3 separate regions of the Homo sapiens genome follow, and regions 2 and 3 are each linked to region 1. The links are contacts of gene promoters, found by promoter capture Hi-C in blood cells and fetal thymus (Javierre and others, 2016). All regions are on one chromosome and are shown on one strand. The core of a region is centred on a gene start or on the middle of the fragment in contact, and the rest is flanking DNA. Distances in the headings are between cores, read along the strand shown.

Region 1 (3,297 bases), core at 539-3,038:
TAATCAGCATGAGTGCTAAGGAACAATGGAAGCTTTATAAAGACAAACCTTCCTTTGCAAGTTAATTACAACACATCTCAGAATTACCTAGTGTTTTTTAAATCCTTTAAGAATTTTGAAGGGTGCCATGAAAGTGTCAAATGTAATTATTATGTAGCTTTTTGTTTCATATTGTGTGGGACACATATACTGTAAAGGAAAAATAGTTCTTGACCATGTATGTGGTCCTTCAACTAACATACAACTGCCTTAGGAAGAGCTTTGGCAGTCTCTTCTGTACTAATTCCAAATACCAAATCTCTAAAACTTTGAAATTTTTATCACGCTTAGGAAAACCTAGGCTGGTAATGTAGGCATTCTCCTCCAATCTTCAACCTTTTCTCTTATCTCCTCTTACACTTGGAAAGGAGATGCCACCTTCAACCTTTTCTCATATTTCCTCTTATATTTGGAAGGCAGGAGCCATACTGGTGAAAACAGACCTAGTGTCTTTTAAAGTCACCCTATAGTATAATACTGTGGTTCTCAATTGTTTCCCCCCTTCAATCTCAAACTTTTTTTTTTTTTTTTTTAAGACAGGGTCTCTCTCTGTCGCCCAGGCTGGAGTGCAGTGGCATGATCTTGGCTCACTGCAACCTTCACCTCCTGGGTTCAAGTGATCCTCCTGCCTCAGCCTCCCTGGTAGCTGGGACTACAGGCGAGTCCCACCGCTCCCCGCTAACTTTTGTCTTTCTAGTAGAGACGGGTTTTGCCATGTTGGCCAGGCTGGTCTTGAACTCCTGACCTCAGGTGATCCACCTGCCTCGGCCTCCCAAAGTGCTGGGATTACAGGCGTGAGCCACCGCGCCCAGCCCAATCTCAAACTTTTAATGCATGCAACTCACTCGGATCAGTAGCAGTGGCTCATGGTGGCAGTAATGCAGAGCTGGGTGGCAGAAGGAAAAAATCAATCTGGTTGGTGGGTGGGAATTCTGCCTTGGATTCTCCCCTTAATCATCATAAGCTTTCCAAACCGAATAAAAATTTACAACCTTTTTGGCAATCTTTACTTCATTACCTACCTGGAAGAATTTATGTCCTCAGTGGAGTTTCTTTAACTCCATTAATGTCAATTAGTTGTTTTAGGTGCTGCAAAATGATAATACGTTCTTGGGGACATTTATCCTTTACAACATGCTTTTTATGCTTGTTTGTGTGTTTTGATTTGAAAGACTTAGAGATGCAGGCTAGGGTGACTGGGACAGATATGGGGTCCCTGGCTACTGAATGAGACTTGGGAGGCAGATGACTTGTTTTTATGCCGATAAAGAGTAAAATCTCAAGTTGCGGTTGATTTTAAAATGCAAGCAGGGCTGGAGAGGCCCATGGCAGACCTAGTTTGGGGTGAGCACCCGGATCTGTGAGCTAGTGTTGCTTCAGCATCTCACTGTGTGTGTGTGTGCGCGCGCGTGTGTGTGTGTGCGCGCGCGCGCGCGTGTGTGTAGGCTGGTTCCACCCTTTGCTGTCCCATCGGCACTACCCTTAACCTCCGTCTCTGCGTAACTATATTAATAGAAGGCAACACTTCACATACTGGCGCTCAGACCCCAAAGAGAGGCTGGCAGTGGCTTGGCAGGTGGGCATGCAGCAGGGAGATGGGTGGAGGAGTGGGCGGAGGCATCGTCGAGTGGCGTTAGGCAAAACCAATGGCAGTTCGGGATAGGGGCGGCCGGGGCGGAGGCGCCGAGGCCGATCGGCCAATAGAGGGCGAGCAACTACTGGAGCGACCTGGTGACGTGAGGAGCGTTCCATTTGGCCAGTGGTGGGCGGTTGCCACAGCTGGTTTAGGGCCCCGACCACTGGGGCCCCTTGTCAGGAGGAGACAGCCTCCCGGCCCGGGGAGGACAAGTCGCTGCCACCTTTGGCTGCCGACGTGATTCCCTGGGACGGTCCGTTTCCTGCCGTCAGCTGCCGGCCGAGTTGGGTCTCCGTGGTTCAGGTAACGAGGGGTGGGGGCGGGGGTCTCCTGGGCTCGGCTGCAGGGTGGGCTGCCTCCCCTTCCGCGGCGCCTGGAGGCGGGGACGTCGGCACCGCCCTTCTCAACTCGGCAGCCGCCGAGCCCCTGGCCCGGGGTGACTACACGTGGCGGGGCGTGTGTGAGTGTGTACGAGCGTGTGGCTGCGTGTGCGTGTGGATGTGGCGCGCGTCCCAACCTGCCTGGGGCGGTGGTCCGCGGCGTGGCGGAGTCAGGGCGGGCCTCGAGAGGCCGCGCCCGCGGCTCGGCCCCGGACTCCGGCCTCCGGCCTCCGGCCCCCCGCTGGGGAGCCGGTCGCTGCTTCCCGACGGATTTTGATCTTTGTTCTTCCAGGCCGGCTCCCCCTTCCTGGTCTCCCTTCTCCCGCTGGGCCGGTTTATCGGGAGGAGATTGTCTTCCAGGTTAGTTTTACACAAAGGACGGGTTCTCTGCACCTCTGGGCCCCCCTCCCCTTCCCCGAACCTTCTACCTTCTCGTTTCCCTGCTCCGCTCCTAGGCTGTTTTTGGACCTTTGCCCTCTCCAGCCCGCGAGTTGGCTGTTTCTCCCTCCGTCCGTCGGGCTGCAGGCTTCCGCCTCAGTCCTGCCAGCGTGGGGCATGTGGTGTCGGTAAATAGAGGCCACAACACCACACCTGAGCGGAGGAGAAGGGTAGCAGAGGCTGAGAAACTCTGGGCCTGGGAATTCAGGATGCTGAGTAGAGATGGTACTTAGGACATGTCCCAGAAAGCGCCCTTGTGACTTTTCTTAGCTGCTGCCATTCCCCACCCCCCAACCAGCCATCAGCAGTCACCAACCATTCCAGAATCTCTCCTGCTTAAGTCAGCCTTTCACCTACAGGTCTCTGATGTGGTTTCATTAAGATTCTCACAAATGTTAGGCTAGACCAGCCAGATTGTTTCATTTCCCGGACTCAGGAAGTTGCAGAGGGTTTGATGAGGGGAAATCTGTTTTGTGTAAATACAATGCACGTATGTGCACAGAGCGTCCAGAACCTCCTGGCCCTGCCAGAGGGTGACTTGTTCCCTGCTGTGATTCATATTCGAGTGGCTAATTGAAGAAAGAAGGTGAAGTGGAGGAAGGGAGGGAGGTTTTATAAGGACAGAAACTCTACTATTATTTTTAGAGTCCTTTTAATGATGTTGAAAGAACACTGTGGCATAGTGGAACATGCCCTTGACTGGAAGTTAGCAGTATCAGCATTGCTGCTGTGTGGTCCTGGATAAGTTATTTCCTCTCTCTGGTCCTCAGTTTACTCATTTACAAAACAAAGTATTAATAATTG
Region 2 (3,297 bases), core at 591-3,090, 160 kb after region 1:
TAGAGTGTAAGCTTCATGTGAGCTGGGAGTTTGTCTTAGTCTCTGCTCTACCTACAGCTTCTAGAACAGTGGCACATAGTAGGCACTTGGTAAATCTCTGCTGAATGAATGAATGAAGTGTCAACATGGTGTCTGACATGTAAAAAGTGTTTGGTAAATGGGAGTTATTATTACTGATAACTATCTCTTTATGGAGTAACTTCCTATGCCCAGGGCTTAGCACAGAGCCCTGTACTTAGCAGATGTTCAGTTGACATTAGCTGAAAGAGGAACCCTACTTGAGGTGGAAAGTACTACCTGCCACAAGAGAAACCCAAACAACCCAGGCTCTAAGAGTGCAGTGGAGGGAAGGCCAGGCCTCAGCCTGTTTCTAAAAACCAAATCGCCAACCATGATCCTGGAAAAGAGCCCTCCAGCAAGGAGACTTGAGACAAAAGGTGCTATGATCTGAGTTTTTGTGTCCTCCCAAATTCATATGTTGATATCCTAACCCCTAACATGATGATATTAGGAGGCTGGGCCTTCGGAAGGTGATTAGGTCATGGGGGCAGAGCCCTCATGAATGGTATTAGTAACCTTATAAAAGAGGCCCAAGAGAGTACCCTTGGCCCTTCCACCTTGTGAGGATACAGCTAGGAGGTGCCATCTACGAAGGAACTGGGCCCTTGTTGGACACCAAATCTGCTAGTGCCTTGATCTTCGACTTCCCAGCCTCCAGAACTGTAAGAAATAAATGTCTACTGTTTATAAGCCAACCAGTCTGCAGGCCTTTGTTATAGCAGCCCCAATGGACTAAGATAAAGGGAATTTCCACAAAGGAACACCAGGAAGCTATGTGGATCTTTAACTTGGGGTCCCTGTTCCTCTAAGTAGTCTGTGGCTGGAATTCAGAGGATTCATGAACTTAGATGGGGAAAACTACATCTTTGTTTCTGCTATCTTTTAACTATATTTTAGCATTTCCTTCAATCATGAATGCAGGTGATAAACCACCATAGTATTAGAGGACCTGTGACTTGGCCACCAGCAGAAATTACACATATTTTCATATCACATTAGAATGAAGCACATCTCTTGAAATAGCAATATGTTCATCATTGCTTTGAAATTGTGATAGTTATAAGACTCACAGCTAGATTTAGTTATATAATGTGCTAATAATGAAGCACAGACATCACAAATTTTAAAAAATATGTTGGAGACCGGGTGCAGTGGCTCATGCCTACAATCCCAGCACTTTGGGAGGCCTAGGTGAGAGGATCACTTGAGCCCAGGAGTTTGAGGTTACAGTGAGCTATGATTGTGCCACAGCACTCCAGCCTGGGAGACAGAGTGAGACCCCATCTCAAAAAAAAAAAAAAAGTTGATAGCTATATTTCACTATACTTGGTTTCCATTTAAATCCTTTGTATTTTATGCATCTAAAAATATTATTCTGAAAAGGGGACCAAAGGCTTCAACAGATTGCTAAAGGGTCCATGACACAAAAAAGGACCAAGAGGACCAAGAGTGTGTCTGGTTGCAATTGGTCACAATTCTCCTAGAATACGTGACATCTTCCAAGAAGAGCCTAAGTCGGTCAGTGCAGACCCTTTCCAGTCATTCCTGGAATGGGTGGGGACCCTCCAATCCCCAACAATCTCACTCTCTATCACAATATGTGTCTATTAATTAGTTTCTCAAATGGCAAAAGGCCAAGTGTAGGATGCGGATGGGCAATGGAATCTCAAACTCCTTCCCAGACACCCTGTACCAGCCAATTAGATTGTTCACTGTTGGCTGGGAGTGCTGTACACATCCCACCTCCTTTGCTTTATCTCTGCTATTTCCTCTGGCTGTAATGTGGGCCCAGCTTCAGCCCTAGCCCCAAGTCCGTGCTACTCAAACATCAGATCTAAGGTCACTAACGGTAAATGACCAGGGACACCTACCCTTCCAACAGTCTAGGCTAATATCATGTTCTTATGCTCCAAGACCCTGTATTCTGGAGCTTTATCTGAACACTTGCCCAAACACTTGAGCTGACCCACAGCTGCTTCTTTAAGGAACATGTTGCCTCTGGCCCCCAGGCACTTTAGTAGCTTGAGGTGGGCTGTGGCCTGTCCAGGCAAGAATGAAAGGCAGGTACGCCCACTTTCAAAACAAAATAGAGGTTCTTCTTCCTATGTCACCCAGAACACCCACATCTAAATTTTAATCCACAGCATACAACTTTAATACCCTCTGCACACTCGCAGAAGACCTCAGCCTCCCCACCTCTTATCCAGGATCTGTTGGGAGCATGGCAGCCTCTGCCAATCTTTGGTATTGAATTGACAAACGGAAGGCTTTAGGCTAGATAATGAAGTCAGGAAAGCAGAGAGCTAGCTGGTAGAGTGGGAAGAAGTAGAAGGGTCAGTGGGCTGGCCATCCCAATAAAGTTGAAGAACAGTTCTCACAGGAATAATCACACAAGAAAACTGGAAGATGAGAAGGTAGCAGAGCGGGGAGGCTTGAAAGAGTGATTTTTAAAGTGGCACAGCTGAAAGCAATGTCAAGGCCCAAGGTGTGACTGTGCCAGAGTGTAACTTGAGGAGGAGTGCAGGAGGTAAAGATGAGCAAGTCAAAGAATAGAGAGAACATGACATTGGAAGGGATGTCTGCATGAATGTAGAAGTCATCCATGAGAATGTCAGGGTTTCTGGAAGAGGAGAAAACCATGAACTCTTTTACCAAAAGTCTTTAATGAATGAGATTTAAAAAATGACAGTGATTAGGAAGCGGAAAGGTTAGCATTGCCCAATAGTAGGGACCTTGGAAGAGCAAGCCAGTAAATGATAGAGTTCTTCAAACCCTAAGTTGTTTTTTTGTTTGTTTGTTTTTGCCATTCTACAATCTTTATCCAGGTGATTGATTCACACCCCCTATCCTCATGGCTCCCAAATTTACATCTGTAGCTCAGATCTCTCCTCTAAGTTTCAGACAGCTTATCCAACTGCATACTTGACAGCTCCACTTGGACCAAACATATGACCTTCCTTCCAAATACTGTCCTCTTCCAGGCCTCTTTTTCTCTGCGGTGCCCCCATTCATTCAGTTGCCTAAATCTGAAACTTAGCAGTTATCCTTGACAGTCCCCCTCTCTCACATTTCCCCCTGTCAAATCTATTATCAAGTCCTGTTGATTTCACCTCTTCAGTAGCCCTTGAGTTCCTCCGCTCCTCCCTGCCACCACCCTGGCCTACACTGCCATTTCTCCCCTGGTTTAATGCAAGGGCTTCTGTACACAGCCACTTGGCCCCCCTCCAATCTGTTCAC
Region 3 (3,297 bases), core at 398-2,897, 130 kb after region 1:
GCATTCTAAGTGAATGTGTACTAGCATCTCATGATGGCTTTAATTTCTATTTCACTGATGACTAATGATGTTGAGTATCTTTTCATGTGTTTATTGGCCATTTTTACATCTACCTTAGTGAAGTCTCAGTTCAAATCTTTTGTCCATGTTTTTGGGTACAATTAACAGAAAATAAAATGCACCCATTATAGGTATACAGCTCAATGAGTTTGATAAATATATACAATCATATAACTAATACTGCCTAGGTAGAAGTTTATTGTTTTTATTGATATTTTCAAAGCACTGACTTTTGGTTTCATTGATCTTCTCTATCTATTTGCTAGTTCATTGATTCCTGTTCTTATCTTCGTTATTTCCTTTCTTCTACTTATTTTGGGCTTAATTTATTCTTCCTTTTCTAGCTTTTTAAGCTTGAAACTGTTAAGTTTAGCATGAAATTGCCTCCTTACGTGTTTTAAGTTCGGCCTAAAGGTTTCTGTGTGCATAGTGAACTGTAACCTAACTGGATGTGTAAACAAACTGTAACCTGCTCTTGTACGAGTCACCGAGTTTTGGCAAATCACAGGCGGCCAACTGTTCAAATTGTGTTCAAATAAGGCAAACATTGAGCTGTAATTAATCCAGCTGGTTCTGTACCTCACTTCCATTTTCTTTTTCTTTTCTTTTTTTTTTTTTCTTTTTGAGACAGAGTCTCACTCTGTCGCCCAGGCTGGAGTGCAGTGGCACAACCTTGGCTCACTGCAACCTCTGCCTCCTGGGTCTCAAGCGATCAATCCTCCCTCCTCAGCTTCCTGAGTAGCTAGGATTATGGGCGTGTGTCACCACACTCAGCTGATTTCTCTATTTTTGGTAGAGATGGGGTTTCGCCATGTTGCTCAGGCTGGTCTGGAGCTCCTGGGCTCAAGCGATCCACCAGCCTTGATCTCCCAAGGTTCTGGGATTACAGGCGTAAGCCACTCTGCCCAGCCCACACTCCCGTTTTCTGTACATCACTTTCCTTTTTCTGTACATAAATTTTCTCCAACCACATGGCAGTGCTGGAGTCACTCTAAATCTATTCCGGTTTAGGAAGCTGCCTGATTTGCAAATTGGTCTTTGCTGAATTTAACTCTGTTAAATTTAATTTGTCTAGAGTTTTTCTTTTAACAAAGCTGAGGTCATTGATCTAAGACCTTTCTTCTTTCTTAATATAGGTATCGAGTGCCATAAGCTTCCCCCTAAATACTGCTTTAGTGACATCCCGCAAATTTTTATATGCTGTCTTCATTTTCATTCATTTAAAAATGCTTTTCAATTTCCCTTTTGATTTATTCTCTGACTCATGGATTATTTTGAAGTGTGTCATTAATTTCCAAATATTTAAGGATTCCATAGATATCTTTTTTGTTATTGATTTTGAATTTAATTCTGTTGAGATCAGAGAACATACATTCATGATTTTAGTCCTTTTAAATTTATTGAGACTTGTTTGATGGTCCAGCTTATGGTCTATCTTGGAGAATGTTCCATATGTGCTTGAGAAGACTGTGTATTCTGCAGATATTGGGTGCAGTGTTCTATTCATGCCAATTAGGTCAGGTTGATTGAGGGTGCTGTTTAAGTGGGTTTTTTTGTTTGTTTGTTTGTTTTTGTTTTGTTTTGAGACTGAGTCTCACTCTGTCACCCAGGCTGGAGTTCAGTGGTGCTATCTCAGCTTACTGCAACATCCACCTCCCAGGCTCAAGTGATTCTCCTGCCTCAGCCTCTCTGGTAGCTGGGATTTTAGGAGCCTGCCACTATGCCTGGCTAATTTTTGTATTTTTATTATAGTGGAAACGGGGTTTTACCACATTGGCCAGTCTGGTCTCAAACTTCTGACCTCAAGTGATCTGCCTGCTTCGGCCTCCCAAAGTGCTGAGATTACAAGTGTGAGCCACCACTCCTGTCAAGATGTTAAGTCTTATATACTCTTACTGATTTACTGTTTACTTATTTTATCAGTTACTGAGAAAGAACTGTTGAACTCTCCAACTATAGTTGCAAATTTGTCTATTTATTTCAATTCTGTCAGTTTTGAGTTCATGTATTTTGAAGCTTGTTATTAGGGACATACACATTTAAGATTGTTATATTGTCCTGATGACTGTTTTATCATTAAACATGTCTATTCCTGGTAATATTCTGTGTCTTAAAGCTTACTTTGAAATTAACATAGCCACTCCTGGTGCATCTTTATCATTTTAGTTTTAACCCATCTGTGTCTTTATGCTTAAAACATATGCTTGAAACAAATGTTGAGTCCAATTTTCTTTTTAATGCAGTAGGACAATCTCTAACTTTTAATTGTACTGCTTAGAGTCCCTTCACATTTGATGTCGTTATTGATATTGTTGAATTTAGGTCATCCACTTCTCTATTTGTTTTCTATTCTTCCTTTCTATTCTTTGTCAACTTTTTCCTCTATTTTTGCCCTCTTTTGGGTTGAGTATTTTCTTTTATTTTTGTTGAGATGCAGTTTTGCTCTTGTTGCCCAGGCTGGAGTGCAATGGCACGATCTTGGCTCACTGCAATCGCCGTCTCTGGGATCAAGTGATTATCCTACCTCAACCTCTGAGTAACTGGGATTATAGGCGTGCACCACAATGTTCGGCTAATGTTTGTATTTTTAGTAGAGATGAGATTTCACCATGTTGGCCAGGCTGGTCTCAAACTCCTGACCTCAGGCGATCTGCCCACTTCAGCCTCCCAAAGTGTTGGGATTACGGGCATAAGCCACTGCGCCCGGCCTGGTATTTTCTTAAAAACTTTTTGTTTTAAAATAATTTTAGATTTATAGAAGAGTTGTGAAATGGAGAGTTCCCATAGACCTTTCATCCAACCTTTCATAAACACTTGACATAAACACAATATATTTCTCAAACATAAGAAATTAACCTTGGTACAATACTACTACACTACAGACTTCATTCGGATTTTCCCAGTTTTCCCATTCACACCTTTTTCTATTCCAGGATCCCACTTCAATTAATCATGATCATGTCTACTTAGGTTCCTCTTGGCTATGACAGTTTCTCAGGTTTTTCTGTTTTTTGACGATCTGGACAGTTTTGAGAAGCACTGGTCATGTGTTTTGTAGAATGTCTCTCAATTTGGGTTTGTCTGATATTTTCTTTTGATTGGTCTGTGGATATGCATTTTTGGAAAGAATACCATTGAGGTGATGTACCCTTGTCATCCCATCAAATCAGGGGTATATGATATTGACATGACTTACTGGTGATGTTAACCTTGACCACTTGGTCAAGGTGGTGTCTG

The links. Contacts are between HindIII fragments. The CHiCAGO score rates a contact against its expected background, and 5 or more counts as called.
Region 2: a fragment that was not itself captured here is called in contact with the fragment with the promoter of ZDHHC9 in region 1 in 12 of 17 cell types (non-activated CD4 T cells, activated CD4 T cells, naive B cells and 9 more); the score reaches 18.3 in non-activated CD4 T cells.
Region 3: a contact is called between a fragment that was not itself captured here and the fragment with the promoter of ZDHHC9 in region 1, in 13 of 17 cell types (non-activated CD4 T cells, naive B cells, total B cells and 10 more). The highest score is 13.5, in non-activated CD4 T cells.

Annotation. Positions count from the first base shown.
Region 1 is chrX:129,842,377-129,845,673 of GRCh38, reverse strand. It overlaps ZDHHC9 (zDHHC palmitoyltransferase 9), which reads left to right and starts at 1,788. Exons shown (of 11, transcript NM_016032.4): 1 at 1,788-1,978; 2 at 2,348-2,415. The HindIII fragment of the contact is 4,624 bases long and covers 1,006-3,297 here.
Region 2 is chrX:129,680,159-129,683,455 of GRCh38, reverse strand. No RefSeq gene overlaps it. Among named protein-coding and RNA genes, the nearest start is that of APLN, 27 kb to the right of the region's middle. The HindIII fragment of the contact is 3,654 bases long and covers 14-3,297 here.
Region 3 is chrX:129,710,711-129,714,007 of GRCh38, reverse strand. No RefSeq gene overlaps it. Among named protein-coding and RNA genes, the nearest start is that of XPNPEP2, 27 kb to the left of the region's middle. The HindIII fragment of the contact is 863 bases long and covers 1,216-2,078 here.